Regions from separate parts of the Homo sapiens genome. Here regions 2, 3 and 4 are each linked to region 1. The links are contacts of gene promoters, found by promoter capture Hi-C in human tissues and cell types (Jung and others, 2019). All regions are on one chromosome and are shown on one strand. Each heading gives the region's core, a stretch centred on a gene start or on the middle of the fragment in contact. The rest is flanking DNA. Distances are from core to core; before and after follow the strand shown.

Evidence for each region. Contacts are between HindIII fragments. The study calls those that stand out against the background at their distance.
Region 2: a fragment that was not itself captured here is called in contact with the fragment with the promoter of RCOR1 in region 1 in 1 of the 25 tissues and cell types used here (dorsolateral prefrontal cortex).
Region 3: a fragment that was not itself captured here is called in contact with the fragment with the promoter of RCOR1 in region 1 in 1 of the 25 tissues and cell types used here (dorsolateral prefrontal cortex).
Region 4: a fragment that was not itself captured here is called in contact with the fragment with the promoter of RCOR1 in region 1 in 2 of the 25 tissues and cell types used here (lymphoblastoid cells and mesenchymal stem cells).

Annotation. Positions count from the first base shown.
Region 1 is chr14:102,591,199-102,593,898 of GRCh38, forward strand. It overlaps RCOR1 (REST corepressor 1), which reads left to right and starts at 1,451. Exons shown (of 12, transcript NM_015156.4): 1 at 1,451-1,989; 2 at 2,068-2,127. The coding sequence starts at 1,689. RefSeq lists an enhancer at 54-869 and silencers at 448-1,757, 1,818-2,427. The HindIII fragment of the contact is 11,930 bases long and covers 1-2,700 here.
Region 2 is chr14:102,972,794-102,975,493 of GRCh38, forward strand. CDC42BPB (CDC42 binding protein kinase beta) reads right to left here. Exons shown (of 37, transcript NM_006035.4): 12 at 1,223-1,356. Among named protein-coding and RNA genes, the nearest start is that of AMN, 51 kb to the left of the region's middle. The HindIII fragment of the contact is 3,116 bases long and covers 1-2,700 here.
Region 3 is chr14:102,182,403-102,185,102 of GRCh38, forward strand. All of the region lies in intron 1 of WDR20 (WD repeat domain 20), which reads left to right. Among named protein-coding and RNA genes, the nearest start is that of WDR20, 44 kb to the left of the region's middle. RefSeq lists enhancers at 1,940-2,441, 2,442-2,700. The HindIII fragment of the contact is 5,381 bases long and covers 1-2,700 here.
Region 4 is chr14:102,989,716-102,992,415 of GRCh38, forward strand. The region is part of intron 5 of CDC42BPB (CDC42 binding protein kinase beta); the gene reads right to left. Among named protein-coding and RNA genes, the nearest start is that of CDC42BPB, 66 kb to the right of the region's middle. The HindIII fragment of the contact is 4,337 bases long and covers 1-2,700 here.

The sequences.
Region 1 (2,700 bases), core at 201-2,700:
GGCAGAAGTGAACGTGGTCTCTTCAATAAAGTTAATAATGGTTCATGCTGCAGAAAATGTTCAAGACAAAACCCTGCTTATTTACTCAGGCTTTAAAACCATAAAACTCCCAAATTCTCCCTGTAGCTATTTATATCCAGAGCTAGTCCCCAAATTAAGCTCAGGTTTGAAGTAACTTAAAAGAAAAATAGCCTTCCCTGCTTTAAAAAGATTTTCCGTATAGACCTCCACTGGTCTAATTACGAAGGGCGCGTAGTTTCAGGGTTGGCTGGGGGTAGGGCACCGGGACCTCCAAGGCAGTTACACTCCTCAGCCTCCTAACAGCTGTACGGCTGCCCGGTGGTCCCTCTCCAAGGCAGCGGCTCTCAGGCTAGCCTCAGCCTACCCCACCCGCCCGCACCCCGTGTTCTCCCTCGTGGGGGTGCCGGGGGGAGTAGGGAGGCGGGGCGGGCGGCAGGTCCGGAAAAGTGGCTGCCCTCGCCCCGAAAGAAGTTGACCCTCCTCCCGTGCCGAGAGCTTGGGATGAAAATAGCTTCTTCCTCTTTACCCTTCCTGGACCCCCGCCCCAGGACGACTGGGCCCCTTCATTCATCTTTCAGCGGCCACCCAGGCGGCTTGGGCGTCCCCACGCCGGGACTCTGTGCCCCGGGGACCCACGGGGACCCTCCCTTGGGCCTCTGAAGCCGCGGCGCACCCCGCACCCAAGCCACCCCGGGGGCCCCGGCCTCCCCCACCCAATTAGCGGGCAGCACCGCAGACCCGAGTCCCCACGCAGCTCGCGCCAGGGGAGGCGGCCGCCTGGGAAGCCCGTCCCCCGCGCCGCGGCCCCCGCCCCCGCCAGCCCCGCGTCCCCTGGGAAAGGCGGGGGCGCAGCGAGTTTCCCCCAATTAGTTTCCTCTTTGTATGGAGTCTTAGCGCGCCCGTACTCCTCCGCGCAGCGGAAAGTAGTCCCGGCCGGGCGCTCCGCGGCTTCCCAGCGCCAGACACATTTTACTTTGAGAAGTCGACGGGACTCTCAGCGGGGTCCTTCAGATGGGGGGCCAGAGGCTGCGGGAGGCGTGCGCGGGCAGCAAGGGCAGGGGCCGCGGCCAAGGGTAGGGGGCGGGGAGGGCCGCGAACTCCTCGCCGCTGCCTGGAGAGATGGATCATGGGGCGTAGGGAGATGGCAAACCTCAAACCACGTACGGCGGGCGATACGCGTCAACCGAACCTCGCCAACGGAAGCCCGGAGCCGCCCCTCCCCGCTCCCCCGCCCCGCCGCCCCGGACGGACGGGCGCGCGGAGCCAACCCCGCTGCCGCTGGCTGTCCAAATCCCACCAGAGCCAATGGGAGCGCGAGGGGGGGCGGAGCCATCTCGCGTCAGTTGGGCTGCGCGCCCCCCTCCCCCGGCGCCCCTGCAGGCCCCGCCCCTGCCTCCTCCCCTCTCCGCTCGCTGCTCCCGGAGTAGTTGGTGCCAGTGAAGTGAGGGCGGCGATGAGAGCGAAAGTTGCGCTCGGCTCGTCGCTGGGGGCTTGAAGCGGCTCCGCGCTCTGCCCGTTTGGGCCTCCCCCGACTCGGACTCGCGCCCGTGGGCTCCCGCCGCGCCCGCCCGGCCCCGCGCCGGCCCCGCGCCCCCTCCCCCGTCTCGGCGCCCCCTCCTCAGGAGCCGCGGGTCCCCGCCACTTTCGCACGGCCCCGGCCCCCGCCGATGCCGGCCATGGTGGAGAAGGGCCCCGAGGTCTCAGGGAAGCGGAGAGGGAGGAACAACGCGGCCGCCTCCGCCTCCGCCGCCGCCGCCTCCGCCGCCGCCTCGGCCGCCTGCGCCTCGCCAGCCGCCACTGCCGCCTCGGGCGCCGCCGCCTCCTCAGCCTCGGCCGCCGCCGCCTCAGCCGCCGCCGCCCCCAATAATGGCCAGAATAAAAGTTTGGCGGCGGCGGCGCCCAATGGCAACAGCAGCAGCAACTCCTGGGAGGAAGGCAGCTCGGGCTCGTCCAGCGACGAGGAGCACGGTAGGTGGCAGCCGCCCCCGCGGCCCCGGGCCCCGCGCCCCGCGCCGCGCTGACCGCCGTATTCTGCTTCCCCCGCAGGTGGCGGTGGCATGAGGGTCGGACCCCAGTACCAGGCGGTGGTGCCCGACTTCGACCCCGGTGAGTAGCGGCCCCGGCCGGCCGGCGGCGGGGATGAGCGGGAGCCCCGGGTCCCCGGCGAGCCCGAGGGGGCGGGAGCCCGCCGACAACTTTCTTTTTGTGCGTTCGCCCTGCCGTCCGTGGGGAGAACAGCAGGGCGAGGACGAGGAGGCGCACACGCACACGAGTGTTCTGCAAACGTGCCTCTGCACCCGGGGGAGGCCAGGTCGCCCCCAGCAGGGCCGGCGCCGCTGCCCCCTTGCGCCTCCGAGGACTGCGGGTGGCGTCGGAGGTGGCCACACCTGGCCTGGGGGCGCTGGGGGTCCCTGCGTCCAGGTGAGCTGCGCCTCGGCCAGGGGTAAGGGTGGCAGTGCCGGAGAGTTAGTGTCCTGCGAGCGCCCCGGACTTAGGAGGTCCCCAGAGACCCCTTTCTCGGAACCCTTCCCAAAGGCTGCTCCCCACGCCTTTGCTCCTCCTCTCAGCCTCTGGGCTCTTGCTGGCTCCTGACTGCCCTCCCATCCAGAAGGCGAGTAGAAGAACGACCCCCCAAAACCAGTCAATAAAAGAAGTGTGTTTTCCAGAGGGCGCCTGCCT
Region 2 (2,700 bases), core at 162-2,661, 380 kb after region 1:
TGTCAGCCTCTGCCCAGTGTCACCTGCACAGCCGCAAAGCTGAATGAAGCATTTGGGCACTCAATCTAGTTACTTAAACATAAGCAAAATCAAAAAGAACACATATGACACAAAGTGCTGAAGGTGAAGTCACAGTGAAGAACTGTATAAAAACAATCGCTGGACAGCCTGCCCTTCAATGCAGACTGATGTGCGGATACTGGCTGTCACTCTGCACTCACCACGCTGATGACCCTGACCTCCCTGCAGCCAATCTGGTCAACTATCTGGCAGTTCAGTCACTGTCACACCTGCTGGTCTGAGATGGAAGTGACAAGACCCTGAGCAAGCTGGCAGGGCAGCTCCCACACGTGAAGGGGAGGCCTCCCCAGGCCTCTCTGGGCCCGCTGGGAGGTACTATGACCCTGTCAAGCAATGAGATGCCATGTGCCCCACACTGCACTTCTAGACAAATCACTCACGTGGATGACCCACAGATTATCTTAAGAAACAATCTGGGTTTGATACCTGGCACATTTTAGAGAACAGATCACAAACTACAGGTTCAAGAATAACATGTATCAATGAATGTATTTTAGAAAACACGCATATAATTGTGTTAGTAACATGCTGACACCTGAGCATAAAAGTTTCCCATATATTACTAAAAATGAAATTTATAAACGAATTATGGGGGGAAATCACCCAGATTTTAACACAGGGTCTCTGCTGCAGTTCCCTGTCATTACTAAGGGTCCCCTTCTAAGAGCAGAGGCCTGGTGGAGAGAAGGGGAGGGCCTGGCTCGGGACGCAGCGTGTGTTGCCACAGCCACCATGCCCTATGCACAGCCACCATGCCCTGTGGACGGCCACCATGCCCTGTGCACGGCCACCATGCCCTATCGACATCTTTCCTCGCTTTAGAATGCAGTGGGGTGCTGCTTTCTCTGTGGGTCTGAAGTGGAGACTGGAGAGGCTGATTGCGAGGTGGATAACCGCTGGGGGCAAGGGGGTGGAAGGCACCTGCCACTGGGAGCCAAGCTCTGCCAGCCGACGCGGGGGCTGTGCAGCAGGCAGGCGTGGCAGGGGCCCCGGGGCCAGGCTTGGCCCTGGCGTCCTGCATGCAGCAGGGACAGCCCATGGGCAGGAGTCCCAAGAGGTCTTCCATCATCGGCATGAACGTGACCTTACAGAATTCTGCAAAGTCCCGTAAGCCTTTCTCACCCCAAACTGAGCCACCTACCTTGTGCAGCTCCTCCTTCTCCTGCCGGACCACGCGGTGCTGCTTCTCCAGCCCCCGCAGCCGCTGCGTGGAGTCCTCACGCTCTTGGCGAAGCGCCACTGTGTCCTCAAGCTGTCGCTCGAGCCTGTTTGAATCTGGACAAAAGAGGAAATAAACTCTGTTCCTTTATGTGCAATGACTATATGTAAACTTTATGTTAGCTGACTTACTGACAGGAAATTATTTAATAATTCACAACACTTTTTCATTCAGAGGTTTTTTTACTTACACACACACACACACACACACACACACACACACACACAGTGTCATAGGCACAGCTACCTGCATGCCTGTGCTGAACAGGCTCCCTAGACTTTACTCTGATCTGACAGCGATCTCCCCTGAGCACTGGGAGCCCTTGGGTGGCGCACACACTCGTCTGCTCAGTCCCTCTAACCTGTGTCACCCAGCACAGTGCCTGGCCCTTGTCCTTTCTCAGCGTGCAAGAAAAGTTTTAGTTAGTAAGTGACTCAATCAAAGAAGTCTGTTTTTGGATCAGGACAGTGGGGTTCCTGATAGGAAATGCAGAGAAGGTGAGATTCAAAGTGTGCTTTGGAGGTGAAGGTCAACTGCAGAGCCAACCTGTGTGAGGTTAAGGCTTAAAAGTGATTGGAGCCAGGCCAGGCGCAGCGGCTCACGCCTGTAATCCCAGCACTTCGGGAGGCCAAGGCAGGCGGATCACGAGGTCAGGAGATCGAGACCATCCTGGCTAACACAGTGAAATCCTGTCTCTATTTTGTAAAAATACAAAAAATTAGCCAGGCGTGGTGGGGGGCTACTTGGGAGGCTGAGACAGGAGAATGGCGTGAACCCAGGAGGCGGAGCTTGCAGTGAGCCGAGATCATGCCACTGCACTCCAGCCTGGGTGACAGAGTGAGACTCCGTCTCAAAAAACAAAAAAACAAAAAAACAAAAACTGATTGGAGCTTTTAGGGAACTTTGATAACCTAGGAACCGCCAAAAGAAAGTGGTGACAGCAGGTCTAGCACCTACAACACCAAGGAGCAGGCAGAGTCACTGATTAAGCTTTAGGAGGAAAGCAGCTCTAGGAACTGTCTGAAAGCCACAAAAAGGAAAACTGTAACAGAGAAGCAGAAAATAGCCAGAGAACGTACAGATAAAATATCAGGAACTGATTCTAGCTGGTGACTATAAAATAATATCATTAGAACTAAGCCAATTGGGGCTGGGCGCAGTGGCTCATGCTTGTAATTCCAGCACTTTGGGAAGCCAAGGCAGGCAGATCACCTGAGGTCAGGAGTTCGAGACCAGCCTGGCCAACATGGTGAAACCCTGTCTCTACTAAAAATACAAAATTAGCCGGGTGTGGTGGCACATGCCTGTAATCCCAGCTACTTGGGAGGCTGAGGCAAGAGAATCGCTTGAACCCAGGAGGTGGAGGTTTCAGTGAGCTGAGATCGCACCACTGCACTCCA
Region 3 (2,700 bases), core at 50-2,549, 410 kb before region 1:
TCATTGAGTGATGTCACTGATGCCACAGAAAGATGAGTAATAGACTCCTGTGGTCTTAATTGGTGTGAAACTTTATGATTTGGCCTGTTTGGAATATATTATCATCTGTTGATGATATATCATTCCCATTCATGCATTTGCTCAGTGTTACAGTAAGCTTCCTTTTATTGTGAATTTTACTGTTCATCAAGTCACAGATTTTTCTGTGACCCTAATACCAAGCAATGACATGCTTTTAAACTACTAGAATAATTTTGAAATAGTTTTAGTAGTTTTTTTGGTTATTTTTTTCTATTAAAAAATTATATATAATATATGATTATTGACAAAAAGGCAAAAAATATTATCTAAATATTACCCCCTCTTTTAATGGTAGACACTTTTAATATTTTGGTGAATATCTTTTCAAACTGTTTTCTTTGCAAATATGTACATGTAAATAAATATATGGCCCAAACAGAATTAGACTTTTTTTATTCCATAAAATACATATATATACAGGTGGTGCATACCTGTAATATACAGGTGGTACATACCTGTAATCTCAGCTACTTGGGAGGCTGAGGCAGGGTAATCACATGAACCCAGGAGGTGGAGGTTGCAGGGAGCCGAGATTGCGCTACTGCACTCCAGCCTGGGCAACAGAGCTCTCCGTCTCAGAGAGAGAGAAAAAAAAAGAAAGTTGTGCCATGAACATTTTTTTTAGGTTATTTGAGGATATTCGACATATATGACAAATGACTAACAGCACAAGTGCCAAGTGAGTAGTTGCAGTGATGAACTAATGCTGTTGAACTTCCGATGAAGGCGAGATCAAAGCTTTTCCTCACACTAGTATTTGGAAGATCAGCTCTCTGTTACCCAAATTGATTTGAGGCTGTATTCTTCAGCTCACGCCTGGTTGGATCAGAGATTATTTGAATTACAGAAGCCAAGTCAAGCATTTTGGCCACTTGTTTTAGTAGCTGATCTCCATTAATGTTTAAGATATGTTTAATGTTCTCTCACTCTAGCTCTTTTGCTTCCTGTTTGAAACACAGCAGTGTACTATGTCCAAAATGCTGTCATATGATATACAATTACTGCTACACGTGTTGTTTATTGAAATTTTAGACATTACAGATTCAGTAGCTTGTTCTAGCTGACGCTGGGTGATTGAAAAGGGAGAAACAGCTAGATATGGTTAAAGGTGAAGTTGTAAGCATTATGAACCTTGGGCAGATCACCACCTCTTCCTGGGCCTCAGTTTCTCTGTAGGATGAGGAAATGGAAGTTTGTAGGCCCTCTGCACAACTGGGGACTTAGGGCCGTTTTCACTTAGGATGGGAACTCTTCTACCGATTGTTGCTTATGTTACTCAGCAACTTGAATTGGAAATTTAAAATCATTTATGTGCTCTGCTGAATATAATGAGCCCATGGATGGCCCAAAGGTTAGAACAACAACAGTGTAGTAGTTAGGCAGCACACAGGAATTACTCTCTGCTCTACAATGCTCTGTAATTTACCAGTGTTGTCTCAACACTTTCAGAAAGGCATAGAATTCTATCTTTAAAAAACATTTTTTTCTAAGAATTTGAAATCATCTTTTGCAGAAATGAATGCATCTTGCCTTTTCGTCAGTGTGAGATACTGGTATTCCCTTTAGAATGGGAATACGTATTCCTATACATATTTAACAGAAGGGTTCAATAAAAATAGGTCATTTGAATATGTCAGCATTTTAATGTGATGAGATCTGGTGTTAGTATGTGTGCAAATTGAATTTATCTTGATGTTTATTCATAGCTTTTCTTTAATGAAGAAATCAGTATTTCATTAGCCTAAGGAAGCCTCACAACAGCCATTTGTGGTGACTTGCCTTGCGATAGGAGATCTAACCTTCCGTGGAGTACAGCATCAGAGAATGAAGAGCTGGTAAAGATGTTGCAGTGTAGCTGTTTTTTAAGTTCATCTTTAAGAAGCTACTCTGAAGGAAGAGAAGTAGATTGTAATAGCTAGCAGTTTCTAAATGACAGGCTGCCTTAGGAAAAAGTGACATGTGAGAACAACAGAAGCTTGTTATTTCAGCAGATGCTTGACTGAGGGTGCTAGGCCAGGGAAGATGCTGCCACAGAATGTCCGCCCTCTGCTTGTTCCTGCTTTCCCCTGGTGGCCACCCTCTCCCCACCCGATGCAGAGCTCCAAAGGAGGGGCTTTTGCTGGCCCCTGGGAGAAGCCATCTGATGAGCAGCAAGCAATTCCAGAGATTGTCACTGTGAAATTTTTACTTAACGCATGTTACGCACTTTGTGACTGTGTGTCTCTTCTCATTTTGGGATGACATGAAGGTGATGTTCCACACGTCTTACATCTTGCTATTTGCTGACGTTTGACTTATTGTCTTGCCTGCCTCCCCTCTGTCTAATTCTCTGTGCCGCCTCTCAAAGCCTTGCTGCGGCTAAACGCAGCCCCTTGAACGTGGTTGGCCGGGGCTCATTCCAGGTCAGAGCCCATCAGAAGCGCGCTAGAGACAATGCACCAACGGTTGGTCTTTAGTGAAGGGGATGGGTTTGGAATGCCAAGCAAGTGTGGGCTGTACTAGTATGTTTGAGAATGAAGGAGGAATGGAAACTAAGAAAGAGAAGCTACTGTTTTGTTTTGGAAGATTATACTGGAAGGAAAACCTGCTGAAAGTGGGCTTCCACTGCTGCTGTCCTTC
Region 4 (2,700 bases), core at 93-2,592, 400 kb after region 1:
ACAAAATTAGCTGGGAGTGGTGGCGGGCGGCTACTCAGGAGGCTGAGGCAGGAGAATCACTTGAACCCAGGAGGCAGAGGTTGCAGTGAGCCGAGATCGCACCACTGCGCGCCAGCCTGGGCAACAAAAGCGAAACTCTGTTTCAAAAAAAAAAAGAAAAAAAAAAGAATGAAGAGCTCCATGAATTGATATGGAATGATTTACAGGATACATCACTAAAGTTTTTAAAGGTATCACCTTTTGCTTAACAAAGGATAAACAAGAAAACGCCTGCATGGACGATAGCAGAAGACAGCAGACTGGCTACGGATCCTGGGTTGCCAGCGGAGGTGGGCAGGATAAAGAAGGGGCGACGCTTCTGAGTACAACTTCATGCAGTTTTGGAAGCACGCTAACGTCCTACGTACTCAAAGAATAAAACTCAATCAACAAAGGCGGAAGGGAAGTCTAAAATGGAAAACTGATTCAAACCAATGAATCCAACTGTATTTCAAATAAATAACAACACTGAAGGGGGAGATGGGGTTAAAACAAAACAAAACAAAACAAAACAAATCCAAGTGACTTATGAACACAGAACTTGAATTACTGCAGGTGAGGGGTGCAGTCCCAATGAGATGGGGGAGAACCGCAAACAAACCCGGAATGCCTGCGGGCAGGTTTGCTTCTGTGGTGTCCTGGGCAGAGCAATTCTAAAGCTTTTTTAGACACATCTCAGGACTGAGTGAGTGCACGTACTAACGGTGCTGGGAGTCACAGTTTCAGTAGGAGGAAGACAAAAGTCTGGAAAGGGAGGAAGTCAGGAAGTTAACTCATGATTCCTGAGTATGCACAGGTAGACGTGTGTGTCCATGAGTGTGTCTATACCTCTGTTACTACCTCTGTGCACTGAGGGGCCTAGAAGCAGGCAACCCCATAGTAATGCGCATGCCCAGCACCCAGAACTTGGTCTTCAAAGCCGCTCCCCACTAAAGGGCCTTGAGCTCTTCTGAGAAACAACGGAGTGGGGACAGAGAAGGTATAGGATGAGCCAGAAACTAAGGGCATCCTCAAAAAGTGAAGAGGCACAGCGCAAACACAGGAGTCGGCTAGAATGCCAAATATGGGCCAATTTCAGCACAAAAATAACTAAGATAGTGAATTAAAAACCACTGGGAGAAAGAAGGATCCATGTAGCCACACTGATCACAAACAGACCAATACACAGGGAGAAAGGGGTTGCTTCCTTAGAGGAGAAAGCCGGATGACGACTGGTCAGCATGGTGGGTCTGGAGTTTGTGAGTCAATCTGCAACCATGCAAAGACTGGTCTAGGCAAAATTCATTAATGGGTACTAAATCTCTGGAGGAAATTTTAAAGAGGAAGAGGATATTTGCATGGTCTTAAAAGTATCTCCCCACAGGGAAAAAACTATATAGCAGAAAAATCTAACAAAATCTTAACTGCGTGATGGGTTTATCACCACCAAGGGGCTGATGGATATTGTACACCTGTGGAAATGACACCCTGAGAAGGACACAATATAGCTATACACACACATTCCAAGAGGAAGGAACACATCATCTCAATCTATCAGAAGGAAACATCAGACCAAACCAAAGAAGTCTTCTACTGAAAAAGCAAGGGACACTGTATTCGCCAAACACATCAATGTTCTTCCAACATGCCAATGTCACAACAAAGGAAGGATGAGGAACTATTCTAGATTAAAAGAGATTAAAGAAGACATGACAATAAATGCAACATGTGATCCTGGACTGGATTCTGTACTGGAGGGAAGAAAATACTGTAAGAGATGCTCCTGGGTCAACTGCTAAAATCTGAGTAAAGAGGGTATGATTAAGCATGAGTAGTGTAAGTAAGAATTTTGGGGTAAATGCTCTTGGTACATGCAGCTTATTCTTAGATGGGTGAGGAAAAATCTGTACGTGTGTGTACACATGTGGAGAGGGAGGGGGATGTATATAATAGGAGCCAAAATATTAACAATACGTGAATCTGATTAAAAGTATATGGGTGCTTTTTGTACCGTTCTTGCAACCCTTGTATAAGACTGAAATTTTTTAAGTTTGAAATTATTTGAAACATTATTTAAAAAGAAAACTTTTAAAAGAATGCACATGTAATATGATTCCATATATATAGTATTTTAAAACAGGCAAAGCTGATTTATGCTTTCAGAGCCTCACTGTCTAACATGGTAGCCCCTAGCCACAGAGGGCTATTCAAACTCAAATTAATGTAAATTACATAAAATGAAGAATTTGGTTCTTTTGTTGCACCAGCCACGTTTTGAGTGCTCATGAGCCACATGTGGCTGGGGCTACCGTATTGAGCAGTGCACATCTAGAACATTCTGTCACTGTGGAAAGTTCTGCATAGCACTGTGGGGGGGATGAGGGGTGGTGACCCCTGGGGAGGGAGTGATGGGGGAGCCCCAAGGGGGCTTATCTGGGTGCTGCTGTGAGCGTGCAGTTTTGAACAATCCACTGAGTTGCACCCCTCGGTTTGGGAGCTTTACTGAATACCTGTGACATATCTCAGTAAGATTTACATAAAGAAGTCAACTGAAATGGACTTTAAAGTTACAAAAAGCCCTCCTATCCCAACTACAGATAACAGTGATTTAAAGGATGTTTTTGCTGGGACCCAGAAATAAAACAGCCACCAGTTATAAATGGCAGACACAGTACCTGCCAT